2 separate regions of the Homo sapiens genome follow, and region 1 is linked to region 2. The links are contacts of gene promoters, found by promoter capture Hi-C in blood cells and fetal thymus (Javierre and others, 2016). All regions are on one chromosome and are shown on one strand. The core of a region is centred on a gene start or on the middle of the fragment in contact, and the rest is flanking DNA. Distances in the headings are between cores, read along the strand shown. Region 1 overlaps FANCC (FA complementation group C). Region 2 holds the start of FBP1 (fructose-bisphosphatase 1).

Evidence for each region. Contacts are between HindIII fragments. The CHiCAGO score rates a contact against its expected background, and 5 or more counts as called.
Region 1: a contact is called between a fragment that was not itself captured here and the fragment with the promoter of FBP1 in region 2, in 6 of 17 cell types (M2 macrophages, M1 macrophages, total B cells and 3 more). The highest score is 8.5, in M2 macrophages.

What each region holds. Positions count from the first base shown.
Region 1 is chr9:95,168,685-95,171,441 of GRCh38, reverse strand. FANCC (FA complementation group C) reads left to right here. Exons shown (of 15, transcript NM_000136.3): 6 at 299-363. Among named protein-coding and RNA genes, the nearest start is that of MIR3074, 84 kb to the right of the region's middle. The HindIII fragment of the contact is 3,108 bases long and covers 1-2,757 here.
Region 2 is chr9:94,637,551-94,643,841 of GRCh38, reverse strand. FBP1 (fructose-bisphosphatase 1) reads left to right here and starts at 4,324. Exons shown (of 7, transcript NM_000507.4): 1 at 4,324-4,701. The coding sequence starts at 4,532. RefSeq lists a silencer at 4,191-4,250. The HindIII fragment of the contact is 3,451 bases long and covers 3,321-6,291 here.

The DNA of each region.
Region 1 (2,757 bases), core at 258-2,757, 530 kb before region 2:
AATGAAGAAGTAAACTAACTTTTCTTTAAATGGATTTGGTTTTAATTCTTAGGAAATTAATGACCTGTCTATTGTTCATTGCTTAAATAGGAATGCAGAATTATAGACATTAAACATAAAATCCCAATTATTAGTAAATGTGACATGGCACTGCTTCCTTTTCACTCTGACAGAGTGAAACATGAGAAGATGGGGGTTGGGGGAATCTCAACGGAAATATCACTCACACCAAGAAAAATAGAACTGATGTAATCCTGTTTGCAGCGTGAGTTAACCTGCAACTGATTTTGTTTTACAGATGGTTTTATCATTAGCGTCTGAACTCAGAGAGAATCATCTTAATGGATTTAACACTCAAAGGCGGTAGGTGTTAAACTAAACATCCTTCTTCTCAGGTTTCAAAATGTATCAGTTTGGTTATGAGAGGAAAATTTTACAATTCATAGGAAATGGATGTTCAGTTATGGTTGTATTTTATATAGAAAGATTATTTTAGTGGAATACATAGCAAATTGGTGAGTTTTTTCAAACTCTTTTAAAAATCACTATTTTCTCAACTCTCACAGAGCAGTAAGTAAATCATACAATGTCTTTTGTGGGCCCATTAGGTAGAAAGCCCTACATACACAGTAGGGAGCATAAAAGAAAGAGCAGTACTTAGTTTTACCCTGGGATTGCTCACTCTGCAAGAGGAGAATGTGCACAGATGCAAGTGTATGCTCTCACACTAGCCTGCCCTGGCTCTGCCTTCTTCTGCTCCCAACACACACACACACACACACACACACACACACACACACACACGATATTTACAAGGCAACATTTGATGTGAACATATGCCCTATTTTAAGAAACATGATATTCCAAAATCTAGACTAAACAAATCAAAGAGATTCAGACAAATTAAAAGGCAATTAATCACATTACAAATGTTTCTTCACTCTGTAAAAGAATCTCAGTTTTCATTGGTGGGCATTTCATTTTTGACATATCATTAACCAAGAGAATCTGGGACTGAGGGACTTGGTGATTTTTTTTTTTTTTTGTAAAGCTATTGCTAATTCAAGCTCTATCAGAAATTGTCTTTGTCCTCAACCTTTAGGAATCCTTTGCACCTAACCCTTAAACTATATAATTATTAGAGGAAAACATTGGAGATAATCTTCATTATGTTGGATTTGGCAATGTAAGAAGAACCATAGGAGACATGGAGAGTGTTTAGATTTATTTATTTACATGTCAGGTAAAGACTTGGATTTGGTTGTGAGGTGAATGTTGACTGATGGATCTTTTGAATTATGTAATTATAAATTTATTCAAAAAGACCTTAAAAATCAGTCAGTGCAGTGTGTATGTACTCCCTACACCAAACTCCCAAAATATGCATCACAGTTGATTTTTTAAAAAGCAGCTGACAATAAACAAAATAATTTTTAAAATCTGTTAACAAATAGAAACAAAGGATCAGAATGCAAAATATAGAAATGACTTGCAAAAATAAATCATAAAGAGGCAAACACTCCGTTATAGAAATGAGCAAGGAATATAAGCAGGTCATTACTAGAAGATGAAAACTGAATTAATAATAACATTAAAGGCGTTCTTCAGGAATGACATCAGCAAGATGGCAGAATAGGAAGTCCTAGACCTTATTTTCCAGTAGAGACATTGACTTAACTACAGCATACATCCCAAAAAATTATAGTGAGAACTACAGAACCAATTAAGAAGTCACAGTACTGCAGGCAAGCTCAAAGTCTAGAATAGCCACATTGAAATTGATTAAACAATCTGTTTCATGTCAACTGTGATAGCCCTTTTCCAGGTCTGGCAGCTTGGTGAGATTGGTAGGAAAAACCCAGCTTGTGGCTTCTCTTCCTTGGGAGGGAAAAAGAAGAGTGGAATGTGCATCCAACATTCTCACTTTTTAGGAAGCAGACTGAGGAACTGATTTCTGTCTCTACTGACCGGGAGCACTGATGAGGAAATCGCATACAGTAATCCCTCCTTATCTATAGGGAATATATTTCAAGACACCCAGTGGATGTCTGAAACTGTGGATAGTACCAAACCTGATTGCCACCAATCATAACACATTTCTGTATTCCACTCACAACTTTAATGTCTTTTCCATCGTAACTAAGCACTTATCATATATGATGGCTGTAATTTTTGCCATGTGAGATGCAACGACAAAACTAACAGAAATTTTTTTCCTTCTTTACAATTTCACAGATAGATGATTTGTTTTTACTATAGATCTCAGCAACCTCAGCATATGATTTTTTTCTTTCCTTATTAAGTTGAAAACTTTCACCTTTTCACTTAAAGAAAGCACTTTACAACTTCTCTGTGGCATATCCAAATTGCCAGCCCCAGTGCTCTTGGACTTTGAGGTCATTATTAAGTATTAATAAAATAAGAGTTACTTGAACACAAGCACAGTGATACTGTGACAGTTGATCTGACAACCAGTATGGCTACTAAGTGACTAACGAGCAGGTAGTGTATATATTATGGATACCCTGGGTAAAGGGATGATTCATGTTCCAGATGGGACAGAGTGGGACAGCATGAGATTTCATCATGCTACTCAGAACAGTACACAATTTAGGCCAGGTGCGGTGGCACATGCCTTTAATCCCAGCACTTTGGGAGGCTGAAGTAGGTAGATCACCCGATTTCAGGAGTTCAAGACGAGCCTGGCCAACATGTCAAAACCGCATCTCTACTAAAAGTACAAATTAGCTGGGCGTG
Region 2 (6,291 bases), core at 3,075-5,574:
TTTTTGTTAGAGACACACTCTCACTCTATTGCCTAGGCTGGAGTGCAGTGCTGTGATCACGGCTCACCGCAGCCTCGACCTCTTGGGCTCAAGTGATCCTCCTCCTTCAGCCTCTCCAGTAGCTGAGACTACAGGCATGCGCCACCACTCCTGGGTAATTTTTAAATTTTTTTAGAGACAGTGTTTTCCTTATGTTGTCCAGGCCGCTTTTAAAATTCCTGGGCTCAAGTGGTCTGTCTGCCTCGGCAACCCAGAGCATTGGGATTACAGGTGTGTGCACTGTGCCTGGCCTGTTTTTCTTTCCTGTGGCACTAACCGCCCCCACAGAGGGGAAAGTAAGCAGTGGAGCCCTGGGTTGAGGGCGGCTGTTGTAGGGGCAGGGACTGTCCACACTGTTACTTCTCCACTGCCCGCCTCCAACATAACCCCATCGTGGGAGCTGGGTGAGGAAATGCATGAGCACTGATTCTTCGCAGGATTTCGAGTGTTACACATGTGGTAATACTGCTCACATCACTTGAATCTGCAATCCCATGTGAAGTTGGAGTATGTGGCAAGAAGCAACTCTGCGAGGGTGGTGGGTGGAGGAGGGAGGGGCCCAACCCACAGGCCAGGAACCCATGTGAGGTGGCCGCCTTCCTCTGTCTCTTGCTAATACCTGGGTGATGGGCTTTATGCATCTTGACCCAGAAAAGAGCGAGTCACAATCGACCAATATGATGGAGGGGATATCACTGCACACCAGGCAAATACAGGCTCAGCTGCCAATTCCCACATCCCTCTAGCCCCTTTTGATGGCCAGGGAACTTTCTTGCTTCTGTTCACATGAAAACAACAGTTGGCCCTACCCATGTAACGAAGCAAACACTTACATACTGTGTACTTACTACATGCTGGGCACTGTTCTTAAACACTACCAGCACTGCCTGTATAATTCTCCCAGCAACCCTATGAGGTGGCTACAATCATTAGCCCCAGTTTACAGATGAGCCAATGGTTGCTTGGTGAGGTTTAGCCAATTGCACAGGCTTGCACAGCCAGTAAGTGGCCAGGCCAGGGTTTGGACCCAAGCCATGCAGCCCCAGAGTCTGTGCACTTCACCACAATGCGACGTGGCCTAGTCCCAAGGGGAATGGCTTGCCTTGTAGGCAATGAGCTGCCCATCATCGTGGGTGACAAGCAGAAGTGACTGAGCTAGACAGGGGTCTCCTCCACGTATTCAGTGTGTCCCCTGTGTGTAGCTCTGAGCTAAGCACTCTGCCAATGCCATCTCATTTCAGCCCGATGACACCACTGCCAGATGGAACCATTATTCCACTATATGGATGAACAAACTGGGTTTACAGAGATTAGGTAACTGGTCCGAGATCTCTGGCTGCTGAGGGCTGGAGCTGGGACTCAAACAAGTTTGCTTAATGCAGATCCCAAGCTCTTCACCTCTTATCAGGGATGGTGTCCAATGAGGGTTGGCTGGACTAGATGACTTTTACGGTCCTAGCCAATCCAAGATCCTGAGGGACTGAGAGTCTGGCAAGTAAAGGGGCACACTCCCCTAGTTACTAGCTCTAGCTCTCCCCTAGTAACTAGTTACTATGCCAAAAATACTAGTCATCACATTTCAGTTCTTTTTTTTTTTTTTGAGATTGAATCTCGCTCTGTTGCCCAGGCTGGAGTGCAGCGGCAGGATCTTGACTCACTGCAACTTCTGTCTCCCGGGTTCAAGCGATTCTCCTGCCTCAGCCTCCTGAGTAGCTGGAATTACAGGTGCACACCACCATGCCCGGCTAATTTTTTATTTTAGTAGAGATGGGTTTCACCATGTTGGCCAGGCTGGTCTTGAACTCCTGACCTCAAGATCTGCCCGCCTCAGCCTCCAGTTTGTTTGTTTTTCTTTTTTTTTTTTTTTTTTGAGATGGAGTTTTGTTCTTGATGCCCAGGCTGGACTGCAATGGTGCCATCTCTGCTCACTGCAATCTCCGCCTCCCAGGTTCAAGCGATTCTCCTGCCTCAGCCTCCTGAGTAGCTGGAATTACAGGCATGCACCACCATGCCCAGCTAATTTTTGTACTTTTAGTAGAGACGGGGTTTCTCCATGTTGGTCAGGCTGGTCTCGAGCTCCCAACCTCAGGTGATCTGCCCGCCTCGGCCTCCCAAAGTGAAGTGCTGGGATTACAGGTGTGAGCCAGTGAGCCGGGCCTATTTGAGTTTTTATGTTTAAGGATGTATTTCTCTTACTATTTTTTTTAACACAGGGTTTTTCCTGAAAAGTTGCCTGAGGAACAAAGAGTTAAATAAGACCCTTAAAGGATCAACTCTCTTTGCCAGGCATCTAAGTCCCCTCTGGGGCTTTGAGGAGACAGTCGCTGTCTTTCCTGGTGGTACCACCACCTTCCTTCATTCAACGCCGCCGCATCTGACAACCCTGGGCACAGGAATCTGCACCCCAGGTCTCCACGGTGAATCCAGCAGTCAATTTTCAGAGCTTGTCCTGCCTGCCCCATCCACACCGCTTGGCACATGGGTCAGCCCGCCTTTACTTACCTTCTTCATCTGGCTTCCCGGATGTCACATCTCTTGGTTTTTGGTTGGTTTTTCCAGTTGGCTTTTCCAATTTATACCTGCAGCATGGATCTCTCCTCTGAACTCCAGATACATAAATCTGTCTATTTGACATTGCCTTGGATGTCTAGAAGGCATTTCAAACTTAGCAGGTCCCACACTTAGCTCCTAATTGTCAGTCCTGCCTCCAGCACACGCCCCTCTCGGTGTTCCCCATCGCAGTCGAGGACAACTGCATTCTTCTAGTTTCTCAGGCCTCAAACCTTAGAATCATCCGAGACTCCTGTCTCTCACATATCTCATCTGTCAACGAATCCCATCAGCTCTACCTTCAAAATATGTCCAGAATCCACCACCTCCACTGCTAACACCTGGCTCACTATCTCCTAGTAACCTGGAGGGCACTGTCTTCAGTCTGATCTTCACACAGTAGCCGCAGTATGAAGACACAGGGTAGACCATGCCTCTCTTCTTCTCCAAACTCTCCAGTGGGTTCCTCCTAGTCAAAGTCAAACCTCACTTGGCCCTCTAGACCTCACCTCTGCATCCTCCCGCTGGCCTTATCTCCTCCACCTCTGACCCTTGCTAGCTCTATTTCAGCTCCACCGGTCTCCTGGCCATTCCCTGAACCTGAAACATGGTCTCCTACCCCAGGGCCTGTGCACTGGCTCTCCCGGTGAGGAAACCGCTCTCCTTCCCATCTCCACCGGCGCGTTGCATCCTTCACCTCTTTGCTCACATATCCCTTTCTCAGAGAAGCTTTTACTGAGGCCTCTGCTCACCCTCTTCTCCCCTCCACATTCCGTGTCTTCCTTTTCTATTTCGTTTCTCTCTATGGTACTTATGGCTTATGTAACAAACTAATCTATTGTTTATATATTTATTTTTACTGTTTCTCTGTGAAAACGTACACTCGAAAAGGGCAGGAGTTTTGTCTGTTTGGATCAGGCTCCACCCCTGGAAGGTAGGACAGTGTTCAGCACAGCAGGTGCTCAATAGGTGTTGTTTCGTGAATCAGCACATCAATTGCAGCATTGTGGCTACCAGGGGGTCAGGATGCGGGCGGTGGAGCCCTCTGGCCTTTGTGTGGTAGCCGAGGACTCTGTGTCAGCGACCGTTTTCCGGGAAACTTCCGGGCGAGACTCACATCTTGGAAATTCAAATACTCAATAGCTCTCGAATTCTAGGAATCTTGAGAAGAGGCCTGGATTAAGGATTCAGACGTGGGCCCTCAGATGGGTGAGAAACGGGGACTCTGTGTCTCCTAGCGGGGACAGAAGGGCCAGGTGACAGGCCAGGCAGAGTGGACGGGGCTTGGGCAGGGGGCGGGGGCAGGCAGCCACACGGGGCAGGAGCTGCAGAGCTAAAGCCAGGCCATGTGGACTGGCTGCGGGTTTCGCTGCCTAGCTGGTGGCATTGAGCAAGTTACTTAACCTTTCTGAACTTCCGTTTTATGATTTTGGAGGAAACAGTCATAGCTTTCTCTCTGGCAGAGTCCGATGGCCCGAGTCCCGCTCCACAGTGCGGGTGGAGGGCACGGAGGGGTGTGTGTGGGGGGCGACAGCCCAGGAAGACTAGGGGGCGGCAGGGCGCGTGGGGGCGGGGGTTGGGAGACCGCAGGGAGGATCCCCGACCTTGTCTGAAGATCCAAGCAGGCGGAGCCGCGGTCTGGTCCGCGGGGTAGGCGGGGCGCAAGAGTGTTCCCGGGGGCGGGGGGCCGACCCGCGTCTAAAGGTTTCCGCGATTCACCCGCCGGCGCCTGGCCTGGCCCAGTTGCACCACGAGCGCTGCGGACACTCGGGGCGGCAGTCGGTCTGTCAGTCCTCCCGCCAGGTCCCGCGGCCCGCACCTGCCGCCCGCACCTGCAGCTCCGCACCTGCGGCCAGTGCCTACTGCCCTCTCTTGCCGCCCGCACCTGCAGCCCCGCACCTGCCGCTTGCACCTGCAGCCCCGCGCTCTACCCGGTTCAAGCATGGCTGACCAGGCGCCCTTCGACACGGACGTCAACACCCTGACCCGCTTCGTCATGGAGGAGGGCAGGAAGGCCCGCGGCACGGGCGAGTTGACCCAGCTGCTCAACTCGCTCTGCACAGCAGTCAAAGCCATCTCTTCGGCGGTGCGCAAGGCGGGCATCGCGCACCTGTGAGTCGGGCCTTGGGCGGTGGGCCCCGTCCTGTCTGTCTGCCTGGGGAGCCTGCCCGGCGGGCTGACGTTGGGCCCTCTGAGCCTCCTGCCGTCAGCCTCTGTCTGTCCGTCTGATGTCTGAGCGCCTCTCTCGCTCTCTGTCTGGTAGCCCCTCTCTCCAGAAGCTGGCTCAGCCTCACTCAAGTCCTCATCTCCTCCCTTGACCTTGGAGGGGCCCACCTGGGGGTCCGTCTCACAGGTGTACACCTGATTCCATCTTGCATTCCTCTTCTCTGCCCTGAGCAGCCTGCCTCGTACCCCTCTCAGCCGGCCAAGTGTGGGCACCTGGCCTGCCCGTCATACCCGCCCTAGCCTCAGACAGGAAAGTGCTAGCTCAGGTGCCTTCCTTCCCCATTTCTTCTTTGTCCTCCTTCACTCTTTCTGCAATTAGGGACCCAAGTCAGGTTTCTAATCCAGTTATCTCTGACCTGAAACAAGACCTGTTAGGAGCGAGTGTCCCCCCCGCCCCCCCCGCAAGCAGGCTGGGAGGTCTCCTGTGTGTCCAGAGCCTTTAGGAGCAGCAGGGCTTGTGTGCAAAGGAGCTCCCGTGGGCTGCCCCTTGCTGGGACAGTTGCCATGCTGTGCCAGAAACAGGAAACACCCAGGGCTTCAAAACCCCTATCGATTTGCAATGATGGTGTGTGCAGCCTCTGCCCAATTAGTGGAAAGCTCAAAAGTGGTTTGTAGAATGGTTCTGAATGCGCTATGGAGTGCATCTCGAACGTCACTGGGCACAGGAATCATTTGGGGATCTTGGTAAGATGTGTGCCCTCCTTCCATAGCTCTGGGACAGGTCCTGAGATTCTGCATTTCTAAGAAGTTCTCCTGTGGTGGGTGCTGCCCATCAGATACTGTTTGTCTACTCATCACATTGTGAGTAGCAAGGGGTCAAGTGGAGTGGAGACTCAAAGGACCCCTTCTTGTGAGGTTTTTTGTAAGTCACACAACATCCTTTCGTTTGTGTTGGTGTGCACAGGTATTTTCTTTTTCTTTTCTTTTTTTTTTTTTTTTTGAGATGGAATTTTGCTCTTGTTGCCCAGGCTGGAGTGCAATGGTGCGATCTTGGCTCACCGCAACCTCTGCCTCCCAGGTTCAAGCGATTCTCCTGCCTCAGTCTCCCGAGTAGCTGGGATTACAGGCATGTGCCACCATGCCCAGCTAATTTTGTAATTTTTTTTAGTAGAAACGGGGTTTCTCCATGTTGGTCAGGCTGGTCTCGAACTCCCGACCTCCGGTGATGCCTTGGCCTCCCAAAGTGCTGGGATTACAGGCATGAGCCGCCGTGCGCAGGTATTTTCTAGCTAACTGATCCACACTTTTAACTGAAGTGTAACTGGGTTTTCAGATTGTCCATACACTTTACTAACATTCCCCGCACTTATGCACACTATAAAAATGACACATGATGGGCTGGGCGCGTAGGCTCTAGCCTGTCATCCCAGCACTTTGGGAGGCCGAAACAGGTGGATTGCCTGAGGTCAGGAGTTCAAGACCAACCTGATCAACATGGTGAAACCCCGTCTCTACCAAAAATTAGCTGGGTGTGGT